Regions from separate parts of the Homo sapiens genome. Here all the other regions are linked to region 6. Evidence: promoter capture Hi-C in 16 types of primary human blood cells and fetal thymus (Javierre and others, 2016). All regions are on one chromosome and are shown on one strand. The core of a region is centred on a gene start or on the middle of the fragment in contact, and the rest is flanking DNA. Distances in the headings are between cores, read along the strand shown.

Region 1 (3,811 bases), core at 13-2,512, 210 kb before region 6:
GCACCATACATTTGGCATTGTATGGCCCACTGTTGTTGGAGCACAAACTGAAACTTAGGTTTCCCTGCACACTTACGTGTTCACTCCATCCTGATATACCTGGACATCTTCCTAATATCCAGCACGTGCGGAGCATTCAGCAAATACCTAATGACATTATTTCAGTATATTGCTGGAAAAATAAAGCATATTTTGGAAAGCAAATAGATTAAGCCTCAGCAATATTCTATACTACTGTACTTACTTTATTCAAACTATATTTTTCAAATGGATCCTGATGCTCAAAAGGACTGTCTTTGTGAGAAGCGAGAGATTGTATGCTTTCCCAAGGAATACCTTCTTTCCATGTATGCCGAGGCACTTACTTTTAGTAGATGACGCAGATATATTCTGACTTGAGCATTATAGAATTCTACATATATTTAGGTTTTTCTCTGATGTGTTTATTCCCTCATTCATTCACTTATCAACTGCATAAGTCTTCAGAACTTAGTAGTGAGCAAGACAGACATGGTCTTTGCCTTCCTTTGTTTGTCATTCACGGATATTTTTGAACATCTTGTGCCATCTGTGTGCCAACCTCTGTGATGGGAGCTGAGGCTATGATGAGAAGGAGAATGGCAGATGATCCCTGTGCTGTGGAGTGTACGGTCCAATAGGAGAGACAGTTGTTCACTGAGTGATCACACAAAGGACTGCAGAGCTGCCCCAGTGGGACCGGGGACACAGTGCCCAGGAGGACAACGGTGGATCCAGGCAGCACCTGGGAATGCAGAGTGGGGTGGGGCGGGGCCGTCCTAACACCTCCCGCTTGTTGGCTGCCTGCTGTCTGGCGGATGCCTCCCTAGCCTCTTAAAAACGTTATTCCACTTAAATGTTGTCTCTGTTTTACAAAGGAGAAAGCTACAAGTCAGAGCAGTCCAGAAACTTGCCCCCAGGTGACTACTCAGTAATGAGTGTCTGAGGCCCAGTCTAATTCTGTCTGTGTCCCCCGATCCTCTTCGCTCAGGCCACGGCTCAGATGTCGCCACAGAAGCAAAGTCTTCCCCAGCCATCACCGGCATTTGACATTGAGCCATTCTCAACACCAGTGCAAAGTATGGTGAGAGTTGAACGGAAATTCTAACTTCCAAGGACTATGTATGAAACCAGCAAAATGAGGAGTACTGTCAAGGACAAACGTTTCCAGTTCTAGCACATCACAGCCATATTTCATGTTGTATTCGTGTTTTTTTTTTCTGCCGTTGTTGTGTTCCTATATGCAAACTCAACTGTTAGCCATTCCTTGTACCACTCAAAAGAATTAATGTACAGCCAGGATCTGCAGCAGCTAGACAGTCATGGCAGGACCATTGTCCAAACTTAATACCTTGCATTTCAGAAAGAGAAATCAGTGTGCTGTTTCTAGTCATTATGCTTTTTAGTCAACTGTTATGTCTTTAATTTTAAATTAACACCTGAAATATGTGTACTACTTTAGAATTGGCAAGATGCTCCTCCCCACTGACCTGTAAGCTCTCTTAGGGTGGGGGGTCCTGTCTGTTTTGCCCACTTTCTTATATCACCACCTGTTGATGCCCAGCACATGATAGATACACAGCACGTGTTGGAAGAATGGGGGAATTGCACACACGTGGCATTTTCATAACAGCTTCGTTAGCAAAATGGGTCTCGTGATCTGTCTGTTTCGCAGAGTAGGCAGTTGTCTGAAAGATAAGCTGAGTTGTGGAAGGTCATACGATTGGTGTAGGGTTAGCCAGGAAATTCCATCTCAAGTGTTCTTTCTGTCACCTCAATAAACTTAAAAGGAATTATCAAGCACTAACGTTACTGATAGTGACATTGGAATGAAATTCAATGGGAGGAGGACATATGCCACCAAAAATAATTGCAGCATGGCCCCTCTGTCACCGTCACTGGCCCTTTGAAAAAGGTTCTGTCACCAAAAATCAGATTCTGGTCCTGCCGCCAGGAGCCACAACTGAGGTCCTTTGAAACTCATCCCACACATCGTTCTGCCATCACCGCGAGGCCTCAGCCGCTTCCATAACGGATGCACACGGAGCCCCTCTCTGACGGCCTCTGCCTCACCTTCTCCGTCTGACCTCCCATTTAAGGAAGAGACTGCGAGGCCGCAGGCGAGCCCTGCATCACCGTACGTCACCGTCCCAGCCCCTGCCTGGTCTGGGCCTCCTCTCAGTGTTCGCATGTGCATGCCTTTACCCTGGCTGCCAGCACCTTCCTCTGCCCAGTCGGGAAAGCACGTGGCTACTGCTTTTGCCAACGGTGTTGGCCGTCAGAGCTGCATGGAGCCAGCGAGCCGGGCCACCCCAGCACCTGTCCCAGCACGGGCTTCTTTGGACACAGGTGTTTGAAAGAGCTGACATCCTCCCACAGACAGATTTTGGATAACATTTTGAAACAGAAAACAAGCAATTGGAAGTGAGTGCTTTATGGGAGTAAAAGTCTTACTTGGACCCAAGAGCCCACGGGACAGGCTGAGGAGGAAGGCGAGGGTGCGGGCGTGCTACTCGGCTGGTCTCTCCCTAGGCCAGTACCCAGCTGTGGCCGGAGTGAAGAGAGAAAGGAAGCGAAATTCTGAACGAGGAAGACCACAGAGATCTTACCGGTTTCCCAGACACGGACACTATCTGGTCTCTAGGCCCTTTGCCCTTCCTCTGTTCCTATCCAGTACTATTCTTTAACCGTTTAAGGACTTCACAAAATAAATATAGCAACCAAACATATAACAAATTATTTTAAATTGAAGTATAAATTTTTTTATGTTTAGTTTTTGTGGGTTCATAGTAGGTGTATACACTTAGCAGTTACAAGAGAGATTTTGATACAGGCTTGCAAATGCGTAATAAATAAATACCACATCATCAGGGCAAATGCGTAATAAATACCACATCAGGGTAAATGGGGCAAAGATGTTTTTTACAACATGAAATTCTTTCATATGGCCATCCTGCATATATTGGCAGGTCAAACTTGTAATAACTAAGCACTTTGGGGTCTTACATATACTGGAGATGTATACGTGTTCTACTTGGAGCACCATATGCCTTGAGCACCTCTGCCATGTGCCTAGTGGCATCCTCCATGTAGTAGGATCTCAATGAATTTATGTTAGTTGAATGAATGAGAACTTTTAGCCATTCCCTTAGAATGAACAATTTCAGCCCAATCGGTAATAAAAAAAAAAAAAAGTACTTGCTCCTGTATTTAATTCAGCGATTAGCTTTTTGGAGAGAGACCATCAATGATTTATTTTTATATTAAAGTTTTTGTTACCAAAAATTATAATACCAGCACAGGCACTGCACTGGGAGGTTATGATGGCAGCTCGCAGAGCTCCGCCTCACTCCGGCCCTTTCCGATGCATCCAGTTGAATGCTGCCTCTTTGAACCTCACTGGCCTGATGTGTGGTTTGACTAGCGGTACCACTTCCTGTCCACACAGGACCACACATTTTTCCCTTCTCTTTTTCCAACATTACCAGTTATTTGTATGAAGCAGTTATTTCGTTTTTTTGTGTGAGGGGAAAGAAGGCAATTATTTCCTTTTTTTCATTCAAAAAGATAAAATCTAGAAATACAAAAGTTCTTTCTTGTCCAAGGTTACGTCTTTGAGCTCCTTATATTATCCATGTGAAACCTGTGCTCGACCCAAAATAGGAAGCTTGATTTTTTTTTTCCAAATTTTCTGCCCACAAAAATATGGTTCTTTTGGTTCAAAGGGTCCTGTGCCTTTATTCTTCCCATTCATAGCTTTGTCTTCAGAATTGCATTGAGCAGTTTACACTTC
Region 2 (4,192 bases), core at 830-3,329, 250 kb before region 6:
TTTATTTCCAGAAATTTTTGTGTTAAGAATTGCAAGGTGCTATCTTGCAGTAAAAAAGTGGCTATTTGTAGAAGGTGGTTGCTTTGTTTTTATATAACAACAATGACATGAATATATTTATTGGAGAAATGTTATTTATCATTTTAAAATATGTGAAATGATTAGGAATTGCATGTAAAAGAAGCAAGTTTGGTTTTCTCTAGGTTTTTTGCAGTACTAAGTAGGAACTGTTGCTTCACTTTATATCACTAAGAAGTAGAATTAAATTAATTCTTAAAAAGATTTTTTCATATCCTTCCTTGTCTTTGTCCAGATCATTTTGAGACCAAGATAATACAAAGGATCTGGAGATTTAGCAGTATAAATGGTAGGCTCTTTCCCACTCAGAATTTGGATTTTTTTTTCATCGACCGTCTTGAATATTTTGAAATTCAGTTGTGTTTAGAATGAATAGATAGTAAACTAGATTTAGATGATAACATTTGCACTGATTTTATTCATTTGTGAATCTGTTAATTTCATGATTCCAACCAAGTAAAGTCTATTTCTGGCATCAAAGGGAAAGGTCTGCTGACTCTGCCACTGTTTTTCATAGTTTTCCCTCCAAAAGACAAATAATTCTAGGGGCATCGATCCCAGAAGAGTCACAGGGCACAGGTCACAGTGGATGGCTTATTCATTCCCTCTCTGTTTCCGCACTTGAAGATGAGGGTCTCTCATAGGGGGACCTCATGTCACTGGGTGTGAGACCTTCTCTCAGACTCCTCTGGTGTGAGCCAGGGCAGGCCAAGTGTTTCCTCCGGGGATATTTCCTCCTGCTTTCTTACTGGTACTTACGCCAGGAAAGGCATTAAACGGCCAGTTTTTCATTCCCTTCACCTGTTCCTCACCTTGAAACATGGAGATAAATTAGTCTTAATATAGGAACAGGAGACAAATAAATGTTTTTAGGGGATTATTAAAATGTAATGATCAGTGACATTTGAAGCTAGAATGATTTTATACATACACTTTTATTTGGTGCATGAAATCAGGAATGGTATCATCAGCTCCATAATCTTCATAGGGAAAGATACCCAGAGAGGTCAAGGACTTGACCTGTAAGAGCACAGCAAGGCAGGACTCAAAATTACATTTTCTCATTCTAAATCCGGAATGCTTTCTGGTCCAGCACCATGCATCTTAAAGAATAAAACTGGTCTCATGATAATACAGTTGACCCTTAAACAACTCAGAGGTTGGGGTGCCAACCCCCTGTGCAGTCGAAAATCTAAGTGTAACTTTTGACCACCCTAAAACCTAACTACTAGTAGCCTCCTGTTGGCTGGAAGCCTTATGAATAAAACAGCCTATCAGCATGTATTTTGTTTATCTATTGCATACTGTATTCCTGTAATATAGTAAGCTGGAGAAAAGAGAATGTTAAGACAATTATTAGGAAGACAAAATATATTAACACTATTCATAAAGTGGAAGTGAATAATTATTATGAAGGTCTTCATCCTCCTCATCTTCATGTGGACTAGGCTGAGGAAGAGCAAGAGGAGGGGTTGGTCTTGCTGTGTCAGGGGTGGCGGAGGCAGAAGAAAATGCGTGTATAAGTGGACCCACATAGTTCAGACCCGTGGTGTTCAAGGGTCACCTGCACACCAAAGAAATGAAAATAGGACCTGAAGCTGGTTGATTAGTGTACATTGTTTTGGCCTTTATGAAACCACATTGAATGATAATTCATGAGATCAGGGTATCCAAATCATCTTCTTCTACATTGTTCCTCCTTAAAAATAAGCCCCGTTATAAACCTTTGGTGGACTCGGTGCTGTCTGAATCCAGAAGTATGTGCCAACAGGGAGCGTCCTGCCATGTGCATGCATTTTCATTAGTATTGCCTGTACCATTTAGCTTTTGCTCAAGTCCTGGAGATGTCTTTTTCCAGTCATGCATTTTTTTTTCAACTTATAAAAGTAAGATCCAACCGTTATTCTTAAAAAGAAAAAATATTGGGAAGTCTAAAAAAAAATAAAAATTAAAATAATCTATAATGCACCAACCAAAGGTAGACACTACGATTTTAATATTTATAGTAACCATGACTTTATATATCCTATCTATATGTTATAAAAATATGAAACATGGTGAAAAGGAATTTGAGAAAAAAAGAAACATTTTTCTGAATTCATTTGACATTGTATTTTTCTACTGAATATATTCTATCATGAGTACTTTTCCATTTTTATTTAATATTTTTGTAAAATGTGTCTTATGGCTTTATAACATTTGTTAATGTGGGTATACGTAGTATTTTTAACCTCTCCCATACTAGTAACCTTAAGGTTATTTTTAATTTTTGTTGTTGTTACTGAGAAGTGAAGATAATCTTTGATCACATGTCTAATTACTTCCTCACGATAGAATCCTGAAGTAGATTCACAGCCCCAGAGGTACTTGGTAAATATTGCCAGATAGCTTTTTGGAAGCTGATCTCATCACATTTCTGTCATCTTTTTAATTACGATGTTTAATTCGATAGGTTAAAATAGGCTTTCATTGTATTTTAATTTGCATGCCTTTTTCTATTTAGGAGGTTAGCGCTTTTTCTTCTGTTATTGACTGTTTATATTCTAGAAGAACTAATTTTGAAGGCTCTTAGAGAGTTAAGATACATGTTGCAAATAAGTTGCAATTTAAGTGTGCAAACCAAATTTGCCACCAACCAAATTCTTTCATACCTTTGAGAAAGGAAAACCAGAGTTGTATGGTTAATAAACTTCAGCGTATAATTTTATTGTGGTAGGTATAATTACATAATTCCAGGGAGTGCTTTTACATATATAAAATACTTTTTTAATCTGTCCCAGTCTTTAAAAATAAGCATCTAATTCAGAATTTGTATACTTCCAGATTTTCACCTGACGAAGCCTGTAGACATTAAACATGGCTGGCATTAAATTTTTAATTGAAGTTTTTTTTTTTTTTTTTTTTTTTTTGAGACGGAGTCTCGCTCTGTCGCCCAGGCCGGACTGCGGACTGCAGTGGCGCAATCTCGGCTCACTGCAAGCTCCGCTTCCCGGGTTCACGCCATTCTCCTGCCTCAGCCTCCCGAGTAGCTGGGACTACAGGCACCCGCCACTGCGCCCGGCTAATTTTTTGTATTTTTAGTAGAGACGGGGTTTCACCTTGTTAGCCAGGATGGTCTCGATCTCCTGACCTCATGATCCACCCGCCTCGGCCTCCCAAAGTGCTGGGATTACAGGCGTGAGCCACCGCGCCCGGCCTGAAGTTTTATTTTAAGCCTGTAAATCTCTTTGAGAAACTCCGGCGTGAAAGGTGTGGAGGGGCAGCTCCTTTTTCTTATATGTCCAGGGAAGTTCCTTTATGCTGAGCAGCTGATTCTAGAGTTTTGCGTTGCTTTAACTGCATGTACTGTATTTTACATGTTTGATTATTGTAGCTTATTTGAATATCACTAAATTTCAAGTTGGAAACCATTTGAATACCTAGATGTGAGTGAGTACAGTTTTGTGTCTTCACTGCTGTATTATCTCTATATATATGTGTTTCATTTTCCTTGTGTTATACGTATAAACAAAATCAGCTAAATTTTGTTTACAGGCTATTTTATATAATAAATAAGTTGTAACTTAATCTGTTTCAGAGTTTAAGATCTTACAGACAGAAATTATAAGTTGATCAGATGTGTTTCTGCTTTCAAAACACTGATCCTAATTTTTGACCCTATTTGGCTGCCTTGAGTTTCTTGTTCAAACAGGAAGGGAAAGAATAAACATACATACTTAGAGAGATACCCCATCAGAAGGACTCAGAGACCTTGTCATTTACAAAGTGCTACCTCCCCAATACAGAAAGTACCTGAGAAAAGGTTTCACAAAGCAAGAAAGAACATAAGATTTCACATTCCAGATGCTGTTTCAGAGAGCGGAGGAAAGGCACCACATCTCTTTGGAAAGCTGGGAAGTGCAGGAAATAAGGAGTAAAACAGCTGGTTCTCCAGTTGGGTAGGGTGTGGCATTCCTAAGCCAAAAACTTTGAACCCAAGCCAACAAAATGTAGATAATTGTGGTACCATCCCCTGTATTTCTGTTCTCTGAGCATTTGATTTGTCTGCTTCCTCTTCATACTCAGCAGTTTCTGTAGACGACCTCATCTGCCTCCACAGCTTCACCCATCACTG
Region 3 (3,917 bases), core at 137-2,636, 140 kb before region 6:
ACAATCTCTGAGAAAGCCTGGGGGCGGGAGGGCCTAAGGAAAATGACCATAGGACTTTGTTTAGCATTCTTGTGTTCAGTGCTGGGGGTGCCTGGCCATAGCTGGAAAACACTTCGCTCCTGCTGTTTTGAAACTTCCCTTGTGCCAAGACAGAAATGCCAAGGGAAGAAAAAACATGAAGCGTGTGGTCCCAGACACAGAAGCCATGTCCATCCCCTCCTCTCTCCCTCCTGTTCCATCCCATGGCTGGTTTTCGTGGCCCTGGGCCCTCGTTCCAGACCTACAGGTACTTGCTGTTCCTCACCTAGGGAACATGCTGTGAAAGGAAACGGGATTATAGGAAAATGAAAGAGAAGGTAGCGAAGATGCTGGCAAGTCAAAAATGTATCAGTGTCTGGGATGGCCTGTGGGGATCAGTGCCTCCCTTTGTCCCGGCAGAGTCGCAGTAGCAGGGCTGAAGCCCAGGCCCGACTTTGCGGCTCACACGCCCTTAGCTTACGCATCTGTGAGCAAAAGCATGCTGGGTCTAGGAGGCACTTTCTAGCCTGGCCTGTGTGGTGCTTAGGGTCCCAGCCATGGCATGCTGAATGTTTGCTTCTCTTTGCTGATCCTTTACTGACCTGAATGAAACGAGGAGACTATAAAAGTTGTCAATTACATCAGCTTCTTTTTTTCTTTTGTTTTTCTTTTTTAAGTTTAATTTTGGCTCTTCTAGGAACGTTATGTACTTGAAAAACAGAATACTATGGCATTCCTCAGTGGGAAAACAACTTTTCTCAGATCCGAAGCTACTAAAATGCCTACTTTTGACGTAGGGTTTTTATTTTTTTTGTTTTTAAAAAGAAAGGTGCAGTAAAATTTATTTTTTATTTATTTATTTATTTTTTCAAACGGTCTTGCTCTGCTGCCCAGGCTGGAGTGCAGGGGTGTGATCTCAGCTCACTGCAGCCTCCACCTCTTGGGTTCAAGCGATTCTCATGCCTCAGCCTTCTGAGTAGCTGGGACTATAGGCATGTACCACCATGCCTGGCTAAGTTTTGTATTTTTTTTTTTTTTTTAGTAGAGACAGGGTCTCACCAGGTTGGCTAGGCTGGTCTCAAACTCCCGACCTCAGGTGATCTGCCCACCTTGGCCTCCCAAAGTGCTGGGATTACAGGCGTGAGCTACCGCACCTGGCCAAATTCACTCTTTCTGGTGTGCAGTGCATCAAATTGGGTAAGCACTACCATAAGCACTACCATAAGCATGGCGCTGAACAGTTGGGTCCCTCCTCATGCTGCCCTGGGGCAGACTCCTCCCACCCTCAGCCCCTGGTATTCCCTGATCTCTCCTCTGTTCTTACTATTTTTTGCCTTTTCCAGAATGTCGTATAAGTGAAACCTACAGTAGGTAGTTTGTTGGGTCTGGCTTCTTCCACTTAAATGCATTGAAAATTAATTCATGCTTATGTGAAGATAAGATTTCATCTTTCTTGGTTAAGGGATGCCTAGTAGCAGAATCTTTTGGTCAGATGGTAAGCATATGTTTAACTGAATAAGAAACCACCAAACTGTTTCCCAAACTGGTTTACCATTTTTCACTTTCGCCAGCAACGCGTATGAGAGTTTTGGTTGTTCCGTGTCCTCTTCAACACTGGGTATTGCCAGATGTTTTCATTCCCGTTTTAGCCATTCTAATAGGACTGCAGAGCCCCTTGTAACTGAATTTGAATTTCTGAAATGATGAATGACATTTAACAGCCTTCCATGCGCCTATCTGCCATCCACATATCTTCCTAGGTGGAGGTTTATTTGCTCACGAAATATTCAAACATGCAGATGTAACAGGTTCTCCTCCGCCCACTCACCACTGATGTCTGGAGGAGGGAGTCTTTGTCTGGCTGTTGGTGTGCAGCATTCCCATGGATGCTCTTGATTATTTGTTACTTATGTCGGTCACCACAAACAATATAGCTTGAGAGGCAGCATGAACATAGAATATTTCTGGAAAAGCACAATGGAAATGGAGATTCCTACCCATCTTCAACATCTGACTGTTTTGGCAGTAGTAGACACTGGGGGCTACTAGGTCGGGGAGAGAGTGGGGTAAGGGTTGAAAACTACTTATTGGGTGAAATGTTCAGTACCTGGGTGATGGGATCCAACGTATCCCAAACCTCAGCATCAGGCAATATACCCATGTAACAAACCTGCACATGCACCCCCTGGCTCTAAAGCAAAAGTTGAAATTATATATACATTGAAAAAAGATGTGGCTCTCCAAGCCCACATCTCCTGATATGCTCCATGAGTTGGCCAAGGCTGCATTGGTTCTGTTGTGTGGCGCTCTGACTTTTCTCCTGTGGTCTTTTTACAGGGTTGGTTGGGATGTGAGTGTAACCTCTGCTGGATGTGGTCACATACAACTGTCTCTTCTCAGTTCTTTGCAAAGCTATGACTGTTCCTGTGAAGGTGTGGTTTGAGGTGGCTGCTGGATTTGACCCTGACTTCAGGAAGTTAAAGGCAGGCGCTTATTCGGAACTCTCCTTTCCCCCACCGCACCACCCTGCGGGAAGGACATGCATTTCTAGTGTTGGCTTCTGCATGGCTGCCTGGGTCATGCGTTTTTGTAGCTCATTAAGGATGACTCACAGGGAAATGAACAGAGGTGGCAGCTCTGCGTGGGTCTGAGGCTAGTTTAGCTTATTTGTCTAGTGAAAGGGGTAAGAAGGCCAATGCCATGGCATTGAAACCAGTGGATACCAAGCAGGTGTCAGCCATCCTCAAAGCACATATTTCCATGAGTATCTAGGAAAAGAGGTGGCATGAATGAACTAAGGGTCTCCTACCACTGGGAAACAAACCTGCCGGAGCCCTCGTGCTGGCGGGCCAACGACATTCTCTCTCTATGGGAGCAGAGCATGTTTTAAAGCTGTTTCAGATGGTGGTGATGCGTCTACCGGAGCAGAGACCCATTTCTTGGTCTAATGTTGTCCCAGCAGAGCTAGAAAGCTTAACTCAATGTCTTACTTTCACAAGACCACATGGCTCCAGGGGCATCCCCAGTCCTCAGAGACATGCCCAGGAGTACATCGACAGATACTCAGTGCACAGGAAGCAGTAATAACAAAACGTGGCAGAGCGGGAGTGTGACACCCACCACTGCCTTTCACCCCATTCGCCTCAGTCCCCCCTTTCTTTCTTCACCTCTTCCATATACTTTTCTTCCCGGGCTGATTTCCTTCTTTATCCTCTGCCTTCTCATTTTTCCCACTGTTATTGGACCTGTTTCATCCTGCCTGTTAGTCTAGCAGTTAGACTGTGTGTCTGCTTCCTCCAGTTGACTGATGGTAAAGAGGGTTGCTGTGCACTGTTGTGAAGGTTTTATGCTGCACAATTCCGAAGCATCATTCACATTGTGGTCGCTGTATGTGTATTTATAAATATATACATATATGTAATACATATACATTTATTAGCACAACTTTCTGATTGTTGGCAATAAAATTGGTTTCAGAAAGAGGTGCCTCTGTCTAATTTGTACAAAGGTACAGTCAGGCTAATGATGGACCACATCTTTTCAAAATATATATAGGCTCTATTTTTCAGAATAGTTTTAGGCGCACAGAAAAATTATGCAGAAAGTACAGGGAGTTCCCAAATGCTGTCTCCCTCACCACCAGGAACCATGTCTTTTTAAACATCAAGCTCCCATATCCAAGCCCAATGTCTGCTACCCAGGAGGTTTTCAATACATGTTTTTTCAAACATCAAATTGTGTTACTCACAACTGATGATCTCTACCAGAATGTGGTCCTGAATTACCCCGATGAAAATCTGAGAAAGGATGTATTTCCTAGAACCCCTAGAAAGAATTTTACCCAATGAATGGCACAACTCTTAATAATAGCAATAGGGTTCAGCATACCTCTGTGTGCC
Region 4 (3,787 bases), core at 1,074-3,573, 230 kb before region 6:
ATTAAGAGTTCTTAGTATTTGAATTTTATAAATTTTAAATAAGAATACTGTTGGTCTTTACTTACAAATACACATTGAAGTTCACGTCTTTGAAACATTAAATAAGAAAAAAGTATTATTTAAGTTTTCTGTTAAATACTGGTTTTATTTTTTCTATCAAAAAGTCATAAAAATTTAAATTAATGTATATTATTTAAAGTTATTTACTAAGTGAATCTAAACTTAATCATTTTCTATAGGTAAATAGTGAACTTATTTTTGATTCAAATGTGCTTATACTAATTATAGTAATTGAAATTATAATGGGAAAGGGAAAACTTTATATAATTTGTGACATGAGTATGTCTAGGACCATTCTAAAAATAACAGCAGAGTTGGTTGCTTCCATGTATGATGCATATAACCTAGAGTAGGGTAACCTCCTGCCCGTCAGTGGTGTGCCAGAGCACAGGCTTGGGGTGCACAGTCCATCAGTGAGCGAAACTTGTAAGTGTGTTGTCCAGGCAGTGTGCCAAGCAGCATATTCCAACAAATTGAAGAGAAAGAAAATGTAAGTCTAATTATGGAGACAGAGGCAGAAGCACAGCTCTTCTCAAGTCTATGTTTGTTGAATTTTATTTTAAGATCTCTGCCTTTTGGAATGTATCTTGCAGATGTTTTCACTGAATTTTACAAGAGACATTGCACAATTAGGTTATCTCTTGCATCCTGTAACTTAAATCATTCAAAGCTCAGGTCCAGCGTAGAATTTCTAGAGAATAAGAAAAATGCTACAAGAATGGAGATAAGGAGAAATTGTAATTTTTGTTTGATTTTCAAAAAATGGAAAACTGCAGACAGACCTCAAAGTTTAATGTAGCTCTCTGAGAAAATGGACCATTAAAATGTTTTCAGGTCCTTATAAAATAAGTTGTATGTTACATGTATATGTGAATTTATACATATATTCCTTATACATGCATTTATATACACACATTACTAGGTACCCATGTTTAGTAACGTAGTCAGCATTTATTGCATATATACCATGTGCAAGGCAGAGGGCTTTGCATAAATCACCTGATTTAATCTATATAACAGCACCTCAAGGAGTAAGCAGTATTTTTATTCTCATTTTATAGATGAAGCCACTGAGCACAAAGAAGTTAAGTGACTTGCTCAAGTTCATGTAGCTAGGAAATGGTGAGGTAGGGGTTCCGAGTTCAAATCCAGGCAGCCCTTAATTTTAGGCATTGTGCTGTGTTGCTAGACAATAAACAGCCTCCATTAGAAATCCACGAAGAGCCGGGCGCGGTGGCTCACTCCTGTAATCCCGGCATTTTGGGAGGCTGAGGCGGGCGGATCACCTGAGGTCGGGAGTTCAAGACCAGCCTGACCAAAATGGAGAAACCCCATCTCTACTAAAAATATAAAATTAACCGGGCACGGTGGTGCATTCCTGTCATCCCAGCTACTCGGAAGGTTGAGGCAGGAGAATCGCTTGAACCCAGGAGGCAGAGGTTGCCGTGAGCCGAGATTACGCCATTGCACTCCAGCCTGGGCAACAAGAGCGAAACTCTGTCTCAAAAAAAAAAAAAAAAAAAAAAAAATCCACAAAGAAAAAGGCAGATGTGCTGGTAGAATAGACACAAGTTCATGAAATTCACAAAATAACTAATATGGCCAATAAATATAAGAATAGGATAAAATTCATCAATTCTCAAAGAATGTAATTTAAAATACCATTAGGGTATCATTTTATTAAAACCCTCTGGATTGACAGATACTGTAAAGCTTGATAATACCTGCTTTTTGGCAAAGGTACAGAGAAAAAAACTATTCCGTCATCTTTCTAGGAGTGTAAATTGGCCCATCTATACACATACGTGTGTGTGCGTGTGTGTGTATGCACACATTTATATGTATAGAATTTACTTAGAAATTTTGTGTCTAAGAATTTGTCTTAAGGAAAGTTTTACAGAAGTAAGTAAAGAATTATGTACAGTGATGTTTATTGAAACATTTTTTAATATATGTAGAATCTGAAAAACTAAATGCCCATCAGTAGTGAATTGGTTAGATAATTTGTTATATATCTAAACAAATATTATACTTTCTTTATAATGGATGAGATGGATAGATGGATAAGTAAATGCATACCTATATGTGGGGGACTGTACATATATTGGTAGAAAATGTTGATTAAGGAGACATGCATTCATTCTTTCCTCATTTTTATTGAAAAAGACAATGTATCTATTTCATATGTACAATTTGACATGTATACACATATCTTGAAAGGGGATAAGAAGGAGCATGCTAGAAAACTTTAATTTTCTACTTTAAAATTTTGTTTTTAAAAATATTGGGGCAGAATAGATGTATTTTTATTTTAAAAAAAGAAATTTCTATATTTTAAAGAAATGAAAAACTTCATGGAGACAGCATACCCACAAAGAACAGGCACATGCAGTACTAACTTGTTTTCTTCTTGGACACACACTTGATTTGATAGAGAAATGGCATACATGGTGAATTTAGGTTTCTGCAAGTCATTTGACAGTTTTTCCTGATATTTTCAGGAGTCCTAGTTGCTGACTTATTGCCATCATGTCTTCATGTCAGTCTAGAGGAAAGCCTCTAGTCATTGCAAGAACACTCATTGAACAATGTTCAACATTTTATTAGACATTTGAAAATGGAATAAATTCCACTTTGGGTAAATTTGTGAAGAAAAACCTAGTAAAGTTAGCTTAGTAGTAGCACTATCTTACACTTAGAAAGTTTTTACAATGCCTTTATGTAAGCCTGTGATGGAACTATCCTAAAATTAATGATAAAATGTAGCATGCTTTCTTAATTAGAACTACCACAGAATAAAAAGTGCAAGCTTCAGAGGAATTTTGGTTTCAGTAATAGAGGAAGAACTTATCAGACTAACCGTTCCACAGTTAAAAATTGAACTCTGCACAGAATATAGAAACCCAGCTGTGAGAAGCACTGGAGAGCCGTCAAAAGCCGACAGACTGGAGGGGGCGCTTGAACCCTTGCAGGAGGGGAGCTTGCACCAGCCAGATCTGAGGGCCATCCACGACTGCAGCAGGTGCCCAGCACTCCTGCAGAAGGCACAGAGGGATGCAGCCAAAGAAACACTCGATGGAAACTTGAATCTAAAGGAAGGAATAAAAAGAATCAGAAATGGTTGATATGTGGGAAAATAGAAAAGACAAACTTTTTGGGTTTTGACTTTTGATTTTTTAAAAGATGATTAAATATAGAAAAATTTCTATATTTATTAAGTTGAATTCACAATCAAAGACCTTTCTTTGTGGAAAATTCCAAGTCCAAATGGTTTTACTGATAAGTTCTATGTAACATTTAAGGAATAAATAATACCAATTTTATACAAACTTTATCAGAAAATATAATAGGAAGCATATTCAATCTTATTTTATGAAACCTGCATAACCCCAAATCAAAAATGTGACAAGAACATTACAAGGAGAGAAAATTACAGACTAGCGTCCCTCATGAACGTTGGAACAAAAAATTGTAACAATTATTTTTAGCAGATCAAAGCACTATTGTCCATGCAGTGGAACACTAATTCATTATGACTAAGTAGGGCTTCTTTTTTTTAATGTTTGAAATTTTTGTTTTATTTATTTTTATTTTATTTCATTTTCCTTTAAGTTCTGGGACACATGTGCAGAGCGTGCAGGTTTCTTACATAGATACAGATGTGCCGTGGTGTTTGGTAGTCATGGGACGACCAGAGGCAGGAGCCATGCTGACCTCTTCACAAGAT
Region 5 (4,064 bases), core at 197-2,696, 170 kb before region 6:
CAGGAACCTGGCAGGAGAAAGGAGAAAGAGGATGGGGCAGGTGGCGGGAGCAGATGTGCCACTGGTTGGAAGGCCACCTGTCCTTTCAGTCACCCTCTGCACTGGAGGGGAGTCTGCCCTTGATTTTCCTCCTCCAGGCCCTCGGGTGGGAGGACCTCTGCAGCCTGCAGCTCCCCCCATGCTGTGTCCTGTGTTTCCACAGGACCTTCTCTCACCTCTGCAAACAGCCACCTTTTTAAACCATTGCTGAATTCTCCGAGTTTATGGGTACCATCGGATGGATTCCTGGTGAGATGTTGCCTGGGATTCCTGGATCCCATCAGCTTCCAGCTGGATGTTTAAGTCCAGGCCAACCCTGTCCCTGCCTGCTTCCTGCCCCGCCACCCCCCCCCCCCCCACAGTGTCCATGGCAGCCTTCACCTCTGTCTTCAGGCCACAGCTGAATCTTCATCTTCTTTATTCTCAGACACCTCCCAACCTCCGACCCCAGCTTTAGGGGTGCACAAGCATTGGGGCAGCTTGACCACCCCAGCCGCTGATGAGTTTAGCCCACTCTCTGCTCAGTTTGTTTTAAAAAGGATTAGAGGCGAGGTGCGGTGGCTCATGCCTGTAATCCCAGCACTTTGGGAGGCTAAGGCAGGTGGATTTCCTGAGGTCAGGAGTTCATGACCAGCCTTGGCCAACATGGTGAAACCCTGTCTCTACTAAAAATATAAAAAATTAGCTGGGCATGGTGGTGCACACCTGTAATCCCAGCTACTACGGAGGCTGAGGCAGGAGAATCACTTGAACCCGGGAGGCAGAGGTTGCAGTGAGCTGAGGTCGCACCACTGCACTCTAGACTGGGCAACAAGAGCAAAACTCCATCTCAAAAATAACAAAATAAAAAATAAAATAAAAATAAAAAAGATTAGACACCTCCCACACTCAGTCACCACCTACCACTGGCTTCGGAATCCCCCGTATTCCACCTTCTGGCTCACTAAGGAAAGTCTCCTCACTAAGATGACCAGTGGCTTCCAAATTGCCAGGTCATACCCACGTTTCAGATCTTATCTCATGAGGCTTTTGGACCTTTTGATCAGTCCTTCAAATAATTTTTCATAACCCAAGTCGTTTTGGTAAATGTTGAAGAAAATGCTGAAATAAAGGTAAGCCAAAAAAAAAAAAATTTATGGTCCTACTACCTAGAGACAACCACTATTAACATTTTACTGTTAGCCTTCCGGACTCTTCTGTGCTTACATATTAAATGGATGTTAACGAATTAATAATACATAACATGTAGCAACCACCTTTAAAATATGATCATCTTGCCTTATTAAAAATATGAAGACATTCATTTTAGTGGCTGCATTGGGTTGCAGGGCGTGGACTTGCCTACCTTTGGGAATGTTGATTGTTGCCCATTTTCCTTGTTGGAGAACAATCTTGTGATGAATGAACTCCTTAGTACTTCATATCTATTCACTCTCATTGTTTTCTTAGAAAAAATTGCTAGAAGTTAAAGCCCCACTGCCAGCTGTCAGCCCCCACACATCCCCTTTCTGCATGGTTGTTTCCTAGGAGTATACCCTTTTCCTAAGTGCAGAAAAGGACGGAGGAAGAGCTGCGACGTGGTTGCAGGTGTCAGACTCCCCCATGAAGGAGGGAAATCTGTCTGCCTGCCTGGGCGCTAGGACTGGAGACAGGTGCCAGGGAGGGTGGCAGCGCTTCTCTGCCTGGAAAACAAAGTGGAAGCCTGAGCTGGTATCTCTCCGGCATACTCCTCCCTCCGGGCCATCACTGCGTCCTCCTGCGTCCGGCATTATGTTCCCTCTGCAGGCCTTTGCTGCTGGTGCGGTGAGACTTTACTTAAGGGGTAGCATTTTAGTAAGAAGTCTGACAAGCAAGGCTATTGACATCTTGAATGTGAAGTGAAGTCCGTGCTTTCCTGCTTCCTGAGATTCCTCTGGCCCCGTGGCTTCAGTGAAACCACACCTTCCTGTTTCCCTCTGAGCCCTTCCTCCTCATCTTTCCGTCTCCTTCTTAGGCTCCTCTTCTTCCACACAGCCCCTAAATTCCAACAATCACCAGGCTTTCCCCCAGAAATCACTCTGCTTACGCTCCCCACTCGCTGTGCCTGTATGGTGGGGTGGGGTCCAACCCACTCAAATTATTAGCCACTAAGACACCCTTGACCCCTTCTTCTCTCAGACTCGAAATTCATCTGCCCAACTGCCTGCTAAGCACCACCTGTGTAATTTATGGATCTCAAAGTTGTTGGGCTCAAAGCGGATTTCACCTCCCTGCCCCTCACTCAGGGCTCCCCTGAGCTGTCTGTGTCAGGGGATACACTGCTGTCCACCCAGCACATAATCCACAAACCCAGCCGTTCCCGTGTGTTCTTCTCCCTCACGCCTCCCACCTGGCCAACCACCACCCATCATCAACTTCACCCTGGAGGAATCTGTCCAATGGGCAACTACTTCATCATCACTGCCCTGGCTAATGCAGGCCCTGGCCATCTGCCACCAGGAAAACGTACCAGCTGGCCTCCCTGCCTCCCACCACCCTTTTCCGACCCAAATGCAACCTCGCAGCACAGTGTGGTAAGTATTTCTATATCTGGATACTGGATACCATACCCTATGCTACTCCTCCACCAAGACTTTCCAATGCTCTTACTGCATACGGGATACAGCAGACAGCCCTGCAGGATGTGCTTCCCGACCACCTTGCCTGCTTTAGCTTTCACTCCTTTCTTTACGTACCAGAATCCACACCTGGATTTTTTGTGATTTCCATGATGCACACCTCCAACCCTTTGCTAATAACATTCATTGCCTGGAATGTCCTTCCTCTCTATGTGACCAATTTGACCTCTCCATAAGTTTCAGCTCTCTTAGACAGCCATTCCTAACTTTTTTTTTTTGTCCCCACAAATAGATGCTTTTCTTCGTGTTCCCAAAATGCTCTTTGAAAATGTATGCCATTACTCTTACCACATTGCATTGCAGTTACGTGCTTTTACAACTAGACTTTGAGATCCAGGAAAGCAAGACTATGCCTTTTCCATGTCTGATTCCCTGGTTTCTATTCTAGTATCTGGCACATTGACACTCAATAACTTTTTAAATATATGGGTGAGTAATATTTGTCTTCCAATATTAGAAGAGCTGCCATTAGAACATGTAATAAGCTTACATTTAGCCGAAAGAGATAGGTTTAACGAGCGAAAATTATGAAAGGACCAATTGAAACTTGACACGAGAGAGATCTTCTGGCAATCAGAGCTGCCCAGAGATAAAATAGGCTGCCCTGAATGCTGGAGAGTCCCATTATCTCTGGGAGATACGAATACACAGGCCAGACAATTAGAGAATTTGGGTAAATGGTTGGACCAGTTAGCCTTGAAGTTCCTCTTCAGGAACCCTTGTACACTGTTTGTGGGAATGAAAATTGCTTTAGCCATTATGGAGAACAGTATAGAAGTTCCTAAAAAAATTAAAAATAGAACTACCATGTGATCTGACAATCCCACTACTGGTTATCTATCCAAAGGAAATACATTACTATCTCAAAGTGATATCTGCACTCTCATATTTACTACAGCACTATCCACAACAGCCAAAGATACAGAAACAGTGCAAGTGTGCATCAACAGGTGAATGAGGAAAGAGACTGTGGTGTATCTACACAATGGAATACTATTCAGCCACAAAAAGAAGGAAATTCTACCATTTGCAACAACATGGATGAACCTTGAGGATGTCATGCCAAGTGAAATAAGCCAGGCTCAGGAAGAGAAAGATAAATTCCACATATTCACTTACATGTGGAATCTTAAAAAGTCAAACTCAGAAACAAAGTAGAAGGGTGATTATCATGGGTTGGGGTCGGGTGGAGGAAAGGGGTAGATGTTGGTCAAAGGACATAAATTGCAGTTATGAGAAATTCTGGAGACCTAATGTACAGCATGGTTAACTGTAGTTAACAATGGTGAATTGTATACTCGAAATTCATAAGAGTAGATCTTAAGTATTCTCACCACAAAAAGTAACCATGTGAGCTGATGGATATGT
Region 6 (4,043 bases), core at 1,544-4,043:
ACCAGAAATGCTCTTTTGCCAAAAATGACCAATGTGTACGAGATTGGAAAGAAATCTTGTCCCAGTAACCTCAGGGCACACACATTCCAAGTTATGTTAGTTCCAAAGACATTGCACATATTTATAAATGTTCTTAGAAAAGGATTTCTAGGGGTAGCACCTTCCGCTGATTCTGCAAATCAACCATTCTTCTTTTTTTACAGATGAAGCCTCGTTCCAAGTCACACAGTAATATATGGAAAAGTTCTAGTTAAGGTTCTTAAGTTACTGGCCTCCTGCGATCTACTTTGCCACTAATGAACCTTGTGATTTGGGGTAGTTCCTCCTGATCTCACGTTAAACATGTTTACTGCAGCAGGATTCCTTGCCTGGGCTGAATGCCCCTTCTAGGTCACTTTCATCCCATCTTCTGCTTTCCCCACTTTTCTGAAATTGCCTATTTTATCCTCTGGAGCCTCTACTCCTCCCTACCTTGTGTTTGTTCTCTCTCTCACCCCCACACACATACACACCCTGTGTTGTGCAACACAGCAGCCATTAGCCACAGTGACTATCGAGTACTCCAAATGTGGCTAGTCCAAAATGAGATGTGATTTAGGCATAAAATACACACTAGACTTTGAAGGTTAAGTGATCTGGGGGTCCCGAGATTTTTCCTTTCACAAAGACATAGTAAAAAACATGGAATCTTCCATGAATAACTTTATATATTGGTTACATGTTGAAACAATAGTTTTAATATATTGTTAAATAAAATATATTATTAAAATTAATTTCACCGGTTTATTTTTTAATGTGGCTACCGGAACATTTTAAGTTACATATATAGCTCGCATCATATTAGTGCTGGACAATGCTGACCTGTACTGAAGGTTCTGTGAAGAATCTTTGGGTCATTTACCACTGTACTCCCTTTGCCCCCTCCCCACCCACTAGCACAACACCTGGCTCATAGTATGTACATAATCAATAAGTGTTGAAGCAGGGAAGTCTCTAAATCTCTCTATACATGTATTTCTTCATTGATACACTGTGAGTCTCTATTCACAAGATAATAAAAGTCAAGAAATTTATTACCCATTTTGAAAGGTAAAAAGTATATGAATATTACTGCTTTTGTTGAAAAGCATGAAAATAACGTTGATCCCTTAGGCAACCATCTGTATTCCTAAATATATTTTTTGAATTGTATTACACAAATACTATAAATTAAATGCTGAAAACGGTGGAGAGTGAACAGCTCAAGTGGGAAAACTAGAAACAGCCAAAGGAAAGCTGAGATACCACCACCAATGGGAAGGCAAACGGAGCCCACAGACTTATGATGACCATCTTTATTGTTCTGTTTTAATTTAAAAAGCAGAAGGCTCGTGGTGCTGATGGATTCCAGTGCTCATCGGAATATAATACAAGTATTTATCCAAGAGAGAGACAGTCTGTTTCCAAACTTGATCACTCGCCAAAAAAAAAAAAAAAAAAAAAGTGAATACAATTCTCTTTACCAAAATACCCCAGTATTGATATGCAGGTCCCAAACACACAATAGTTCTTTCACAAACTGGGTAACCAGGACACAATAAACACGACATGCGCACGTGAAAAGTTAGCTAGGTTTTCCCTGCCCTACCGTGAATCCGCATTTGCAACACTCCAGCCCCAACACCCAAACCACTGCTGACCCAGTGCTGAGGGACATGAAAAAAAACACAGCCACATTGCCATCCCCACCCAGTGTGGAAGCTGACGGCATGTAGAGATGTGGGTGGGTGGAGCGCAATGAAAAAGTGAAGCAGAAAGACGACTCATCTAATCCAGGACCATTCAAAGACCCGTAAAAAGGTACTTGTCTTTGTTGCGGGCTTTGTAAAGTCTTGTCAATCCTTCCTCGAAACCAGCCAAGTACCAAGTAACAAAATCCTTAACCCTGTGGTTCACATGAATACACCCCGGCAACTCTCAGCTGCCAGAGCTGGAATCTGGCAACTTCCCTGGACGGGAAAGGCTAGCCCACCGCCCGGGAAGTGAGGTGCGGGCAACAAAAGAACACAGGGTGGGGCCCAGAAACGGACGGGACAAATGGAGCAACACAGATTTTCCAGAAGGCCTCATCAGCGCAAGCAGCCAGCAACAGGTTGCCCTTGTTGCAGAAGTCACATAACCTAATCAACTCTGAATCTTTTCTCTCCTCCCCACTATCTAGAAACAGCTCAGGACTTAGGACTCTGTTAACTTCTCTGTCCACAAGAAAAACTTCTCTGTGCTCACAGGCACACACACAGAATCTGAGGAGAAAGAGGAAATTACAGAGGACACCCGTTTACTAATGATGTGGGGGGGGCGGTGGTGGCTTCAAGAGCGTAGTTTGGGAGCGAAGAGGAGGGCAAAAAAGAAGCCACATCCATTCGGAGCTCAGCTGACCTCTCGGCAGAACAAGTGTCAACGCTTTCAAAGGGCGCGGCTTGTTTCAGCCACGAAAACGCACCGGCTGGCAAGGCAGGCGGCTGGGGGCTGCCTACCCGGAAGCCGGGTGGGGTGGGGGCGGGAACACCTCCGAACCCCGACTCCGCGGTCGCCGCCCAGGCGCGCCGCCCCTCCCTCCGCGCCCGTCCCCACCGCGGGAAAGGGCACCCCGGGCTCGAGTCGTCGGGCAGCCGACGCCGGCGAGACGGCAGGGCGTCGGAGCGGAGGCAAACCCAGCGCGAACGAGGGAAGACGTTACCTTGTTCATCCCATTCCCCATGGTGGCTGAAGGCGAACGCTAGCGCCCCGGCCGTGTGGTCGCAGGCGCACTATGGCATGTTACAGGGAGGAGGAGCGGCGGGGCGGGCGGGGAGGAGGCGCGCGGGAGGGACTGAGTGCTCGCAGTGTCAACAAGTCAGCGGCAGGGACCGGCCGGGCAACCCAGGGCGCTCCAGAGACCCGGCGTGGAGGGCAGGGCTTTCTGTGCGGCGGCCTAGAACTTCCCGGCGGGAGCCGGGCAGGGGCACCGGAGCCTATGCCGGGAAATGGTCCCGCCTTGCCGGTCCCCGCCCCCGTGCGCACCGGGCAGGCCCAGCGTCCCTCCTCGCTCCGCCCGCCCGCACCCTGGGATTCGTAGTCGGGTTCCTGGCTGCCGCGCCCCACTCCGCCCTCGCGGACCCCGGCTCGCGGCCGCCGGGCGTGGGAGGCACTAGGCTCGGGCTCCCAGGCGGCCGGCCCCGGAGGCCAGAGCGCGTGCGCGGCCCGAGCCGCCCCGCCGGGACACCCGAGGCTGCGCGGCGGGGCCTGGCGGACGCGCAGGCGCTGCCCTGACCGGGCGGCTGCGCTCGTCTCGGAGCCCGCTCCCCGGCCGGGGGTCTCCAGATCCCCCTTTGGCCTTTTCCCCTGGGGCGACTCCGGGGGCCAGTTACCAGCAGTCGCTACCCAGCCTTGGCTGCCTCCGTGAATCAGGTGCTAATCAGAGGCCTGGTCTCTGGGGGCTCCCCTGCCTGGGTTTTCTGAGTGCGGCAGATTTAGGCTGGGGGATTTCCTGCGGCCCTGCCCCATGCACCAAGACCGAGAAGCCTCGCCTGGTGGGGAGAGGTGGGCTACGTGACTCACCCCGGGGAGGCCCGACCTCCCTACCCTGGGGGAGCAGATGGCTGGATCTCTGACCTCAGACCTCACGGCCTTAGATGATGTGTGTCCCTTAATGTCTGCATTGTGGTTCTGTCTGGAATGGATCAATTTCTAAACTGTAGCAGAATTGTTTTGGGTGTTCTATCAACGTTATTAAACTCTGAAGTTTCTCTCCAGCGACAGAATCCTTGAGCCAGTGGTTTTTCTTCTTAATTTATGTATCCTCAACAATGTCCTGAACATAGTAGGTGCTTAATAAATATTTGCTGAATGAGTACATGCGTCAATCTGACGTGCCCTGGCTCACCCCTGCTGACTTCATTTTATCTTCTTGCTAAGCGAGTTACACACATGCTGGTCTCCTGTCTGTTCCTTGAGCCTGTCAGGCTTGCTGGGCTGTGCTCTCTATCCAGACACCTGGATCCCCAGCTCTCTGCATACCTGCC
Region 7 (4,010 bases), core at 69-2,568, 190 kb before region 6:
AATTTTAACTAGTTTTTAAATCAAGATTAGGTTTCTAAAAGTCAAATATATTTTATGTAATATTCATAAAATAATTATGCATAGACTAAACTTGCATACATTTTTGTCACTGAACATTTATCTGTTGGTTCTGTTGCAAAGATTTTCATATAGATCTGTGAACTGCTCTGAAAGATATATTTAATATATCACTCCTCAATTAGAGCAGCAGCCATAATTATTTTAGCTTTGCTTTAAACACAGTTGCATATTACTCTATACTAGGGCCATTATGCTTTTTGTGTGCTGATCTCATCTCATTTCTGCTCCCCCAGAGGAGGATTTATTACATTGAGGTTTATTACGTGTATTACTGGAAAGCCTTTCTGTACCTGGCCAGGTTAGAAATATATAGCAATAAACATCTTACGGACAAGACCTGGGTCTTTGGGTAACTTGTTTGCAGTTTGGCTAATGAAAGGCAGTAGGATATCAGAGTGTCTTTCTCCTGTCTAGGCACAGAAAATCCTAGACAAAGTGGGCAGTGAAGCTTGTCTTGTGCCTTCAACAGTGTTTTACCATGACTGGAAGCCGTTGGTTTTCTTCTTGTGGTCACTGTTGATATTTTCATGGTTGTTATCATTATCATCTCGTCACATGTTAAAAAAAGATTCTCGTACCACCTTCCTACAACCCCTCTAGCCAGACACAAATCCCTGAGAACCAAGACCACTTTATCCACAATGAAGTAAAATAAAATACGTTAGCAACAATTTAATAGGAGATATCAGCAGACATAGAAACAATTTTTAAAATGAAAAATTTAGAACCAAAAAATATAATTTCTGAAATAAAGCAAAAATACTGACTGGGCTTAAATAGCAGTGAGGATAACTGAGGAAAGAGTAAAGGAACTTGAAAATAGACAGATCAACGAGACAAAGTTAACAAGGATACCCAGGAATTGAACTCAGCTCTGCACCAAGTGGACCTAATAGACATCTACAGAACTCTCCACCCCAAATCAACAGAATATACATTCTTTTCAGCACCACACCACACCTATTCCAAAACTGACCACATACTTGGAAGTAAAGCTCTCCTCAGCAAATGTAAAAGAACAGAAATTATAACAAACTATCTCTCAGACCACAGTGCAATCAAACTACAACTCAGGATTAAGAATCTCACTCAAAACCGCTCAACTACATGGAAACTGAACAACCTGCTCCTGAATGACTACTGGGTACATAACGAAATGAAGGCAGAAATAAAGATGTTCTTTCAAACCAACAAGAACAAAGACACAACATACCAGAATCTCTGGGACACATTCAAAGCAGTGTGTAGAGGGAAATTTATAGCACTAAATGCCCACAAGAGAAAGCAGGAAAGATCCAAAATTGGCACCCTAACGTCACAATTAAAAGAACCTGAGAAGCAAGAGCAAACACATTCAAAAGCTAGCAGAAGGCAAGAAATAACTAAAATCAAGAGCAGAACTGAAGGAAATAGACACAAAAAACCCTTCAAAAAAATCAATGAATCCAGGAGCTGGTTTTTTGAAAAGATCAACAAAATCGATAGACCGCTAGCAAGACTAGTAAGACAGAAGAATCAAATAGACGCAATAAAAAATGATAAAGCGGATATCACCACCTATCCCACAGAAATACAAACTACCATCAGAGAACACTACAAACACCTCTACGCAAATAAACTAGAAAATCTAGAAGAAATGGATAAATTCCTCGACACATACACCCTCCCAAGACTAAACCAGGAAGAAGTTGACTCTCTGAATAGACCAATAACAGGCTCTGAAATTGAGGCAATAATTAATAGCTTACCAACCAAAAAAAGTCCAGGACCAGATGGATTCACAGCCGAATTCTACCAGAGGTACAAGGAGGAGCTGGTACCATTTCTTCTGAAATTATTCCAATCAATAGAAAAAGAGGGAATCCTCCCTAACTCATTTTATGAGGCCAGCATCATCCTGATACCAAAGCCTGGCAGAGACAACCAAAAAAGAGAATTTTAGACCAATATCCTTGATGAACATTGATGCAAAAATCCTCAATAAAATACTGGCAAACTGAATCCAGCAGCACATCAAAAAGCTTATCCACCATGATCAAGTGGGCTTCATCCCTGGGATGCAAAGCTGGTTCAATATACACAAATCAATAAATGTAATACAGCATATAAATAGAACCAAAGACAAAAACCACATGATTATCTCAATAGATGCAGAAAAGGCCTTTGACAAAAATTCAACAGCCCTTCATGCTAAAAACTCTCAATAAATTAGGTATTGATGGGACGTATCTCAAAATAATAAGAGCTATCTATCACAAACCCACAGCCAATATCATACTGAATGGGCAAAAACTGGAAGCATTCCCTTTGAAAACTGGCACAAGACAGGGATGGCCTCTCTCACCACTCCTATTCAACATAGTGTTGGAAGTTCTGGCCAGGGCAATTAGGCAGCAGACAAAGGTTTTAATGCACTTTATCCGCAATGAAGTAAAATAAAATATGTTAGCAACAATTTAATAGGAGATATCAGCAGAGACATAGAAACAATTTTTAAAATGAAAAATTTAGAACCGAAAAATACAGTTTCTGAAATAAAGCAAAAATACTGACTGGACTTAAATAGCACAGTGATGATAACTGAGGAAAGAATAAAGGAACTTGAAGATAGATCAGTGGATATTATCCAATATGAAGAATAGAGAGGGAAATGTTTGGGCAAGTTTTCTAGAGACCTGTTCAATATAATCAAATGGTCTTAACACATGGATAATTGTGGTCCTAGAAGGCAAGCAAAGAGAGAATCAGGCAGGAAAAAATATTTGAAGAAATAATGGCTGGCAATTTCCCAAATTTATGGCAGATACAAATTTACAGATTCATAATGCTCAACAAACAGCAAAAAAGATAAAGACAAAAAATGCCACACTGCCATAAACTGTTAAAGCCAAAGCTAAAAAACAGATCTAGTCAGCAGCAGTTGAACAACTACCTGCTACATACAGGAGAAGAACATTGGACTCAACTTCTGGCTTAACATCAGAAATTATGGAGGCCAGAGAGAGTGAAATAGGCATCTTTAAAGTGATAGAAGAAAAAAGCTGTCAATCCAGAGTTCTTCACTTCTAAGTGAAGATACTCTTTCACAGCTAAAGACATTTCTAGATAAAAGAAAACTAAGACAATTTGTTGTCAGCAGACGTGCACTATAAGAAATGTTAAACGAAGTTCTTCAAACGGAAAGGAAATGGTATCTGATGGAAGTGCATATCCTCACAAAGCAATGAAGAGCATTAGAGATGGTAAACAGCTCGGTAAATACAGAATTCTTTCTTTTTGCTTTTTCTTCTTAAAGGTTTTATAATATATGACTGCGAGCTCCAGCGGCACAATCAGTTAGCGTGAGGTACTTATATATGACTGTTTATAAAGTAGTATAGCATTGTCCTGTGGGTTTATAGCCTATATAGATGTAAAATAAGGGGGGGGGGAATGGACCTATATTGGTGCAAGATTTCTACATTTCACATGAAGTGGTAATATATTACATGTAAAGGGACTGTGAAAAGTTAAGGATATATGTTGTAGTCCCCAGAACAATCACTGAAACAATAATGTAGAGGCGTATAGCTAAAAAGCCAGTAAGAAAAGTATAATTGCATTTTTAAAATAGTCGTGTAATTTTAAAAAGGCATAAAAGGAAGAACAGAGAACAGATAGAAAATAACACAATGATATGTCCAGACACAACCATAGCAATAATTTCATTAAACATTAATGGATTCAGCATTTCAATTAAAAGGCAGAGGTTGTCAGAAGGAATAAAGAAGCATGGCCCAACTATATGCTGTATATAAGAGATGAAACTTTATATTTTAAAATGGCGCAGATAGGTTGAAAGGAACCGGATGGGAAAAAAATACACTATGCAAATAGTAAGCATAAAGAAGGCTGGAGTTGCCATATCAATATAAGGTAATGGAGATTTT

The links. The method cuts DNA at HindIII sites, captures the fragments that hold promoters and counts their contacts. A CHiCAGO score of 5 or more calls a contact.
Region 1: a contact is called between a fragment that was not itself captured here and the fragment with the promoter of DUSP22 in region 6, in 3 of 17 cell types (total CD8 T cells, naive CD8 T cells and activated CD4 T cells). The highest score is 8.0, in total CD8 T cells.
Region 2: a contact is called between a fragment that was not itself captured here and the fragment with the promoter of DUSP22 in region 6, in 3 of 17 cell types (activated CD4 T cells, naive CD8 T cells and non-activated CD4 T cells). The highest score is 6.8, in activated CD4 T cells.
Region 3: a contact is called between a fragment that was not itself captured here and the fragment with the promoter of DUSP22 in region 6, in 3 of 17 cell types (total B cells, naive B cells and activated CD4 T cells). The highest score is 6.5, in total B cells.
Region 4: a contact is called between a fragment that was not itself captured here and the fragment with the promoter of DUSP22 in region 6, in 5 of 17 cell types (activated CD4 T cells, total CD8 T cells, non-activated CD4 T cells and 2 more). The highest score is 8.8, in activated CD4 T cells.
Region 5: a contact is called between a fragment that was not itself captured here and the fragment with the promoter of DUSP22 in region 6, in 1 of 17 cell types (total CD8 T cells). The highest score is 5.7, in total CD8 T cells.
Region 7: a fragment that was not itself captured here is called in contact with the fragment with the promoter of DUSP22 in region 6 in 1 of 17 cell types (total B cells); the score reaches 5.4 in total B cells.

What each region holds. Positions count from the first base shown.
Region 1 is chr6:502,567-506,377 of GRCh38, reverse strand. All of the region lies in intron 23 of EXOC2 (exocyst complex component 2), which reads left to right. Among named protein-coding and RNA genes, the nearest start is that of IRF4, 110 kb to the right of the region's middle. The HindIII fragment of the contact is 4,850 bases long and covers 1-3,687 here.
Region 2 is chr6:543,949-548,140 of GRCh38, reverse strand. The region is part of intron 22 of EXOC2 (exocyst complex component 2); the gene reads left to right. Among named protein-coding and RNA genes, the nearest start is that of HUS1B, 110 kb to the left of the region's middle. The HindIII fragment of the contact is 5,921 bases long and covers 1-4,192 here.
Region 3 is chr6:430,793-434,709 of GRCh38, reverse strand. No RefSeq gene overlaps it. Among named protein-coding and RNA genes, the nearest start is that of IRF4, 41 kb to the right of the region's middle. The HindIII fragment of the contact is 3,213 bases long and covers 1-2,992 here.
Region 4 is chr6:524,235-528,021 of GRCh38, reverse strand. All of the region lies in intron 23 of EXOC2 (exocyst complex component 2), which reads left to right. Among named protein-coding and RNA genes, the nearest start is that of HUS1B, 130 kb to the left of the region's middle. The HindIII fragment of the contact is 1,096 bases long and covers 1,776-2,871 here.
Region 5 is chr6:461,615-465,678 of GRCh38, reverse strand. No RefSeq gene overlaps it. Among named protein-coding and RNA genes, the nearest start is that of IRF4, 72 kb to the right of the region's middle. The HindIII fragment of the contact is 3,475 bases long and covers 1-3,183 here.
Region 6 is chr6:291,237-295,279 of GRCh38, reverse strand. DUSP22 (dual specificity phosphatase 22) reads right to left here and starts at 2,793. Exons shown (of 7, transcript NM_001286555.3): 1 at 2,720-2,793. The coding sequence starts at 2,740. RefSeq lists silencers at 1,501-1,560, 1,571-1,630, 1,510-1,666, 2,411-3,430 and enhancers at 2,061-2,320, 2,613-3,113, 3,114-3,614, 3,541-3,830. The HindIII fragment of the contact is 6,707 bases long and covers 1-4,043 here.
Region 7 is chr6:479,973-483,982 of GRCh38, reverse strand. No RefSeq gene overlaps it. Among named protein-coding and RNA genes, the nearest start is that of IRF4, 90 kb to the right of the region's middle. The HindIII fragment of the contact is 1,573 bases long and covers 532-2,104 here.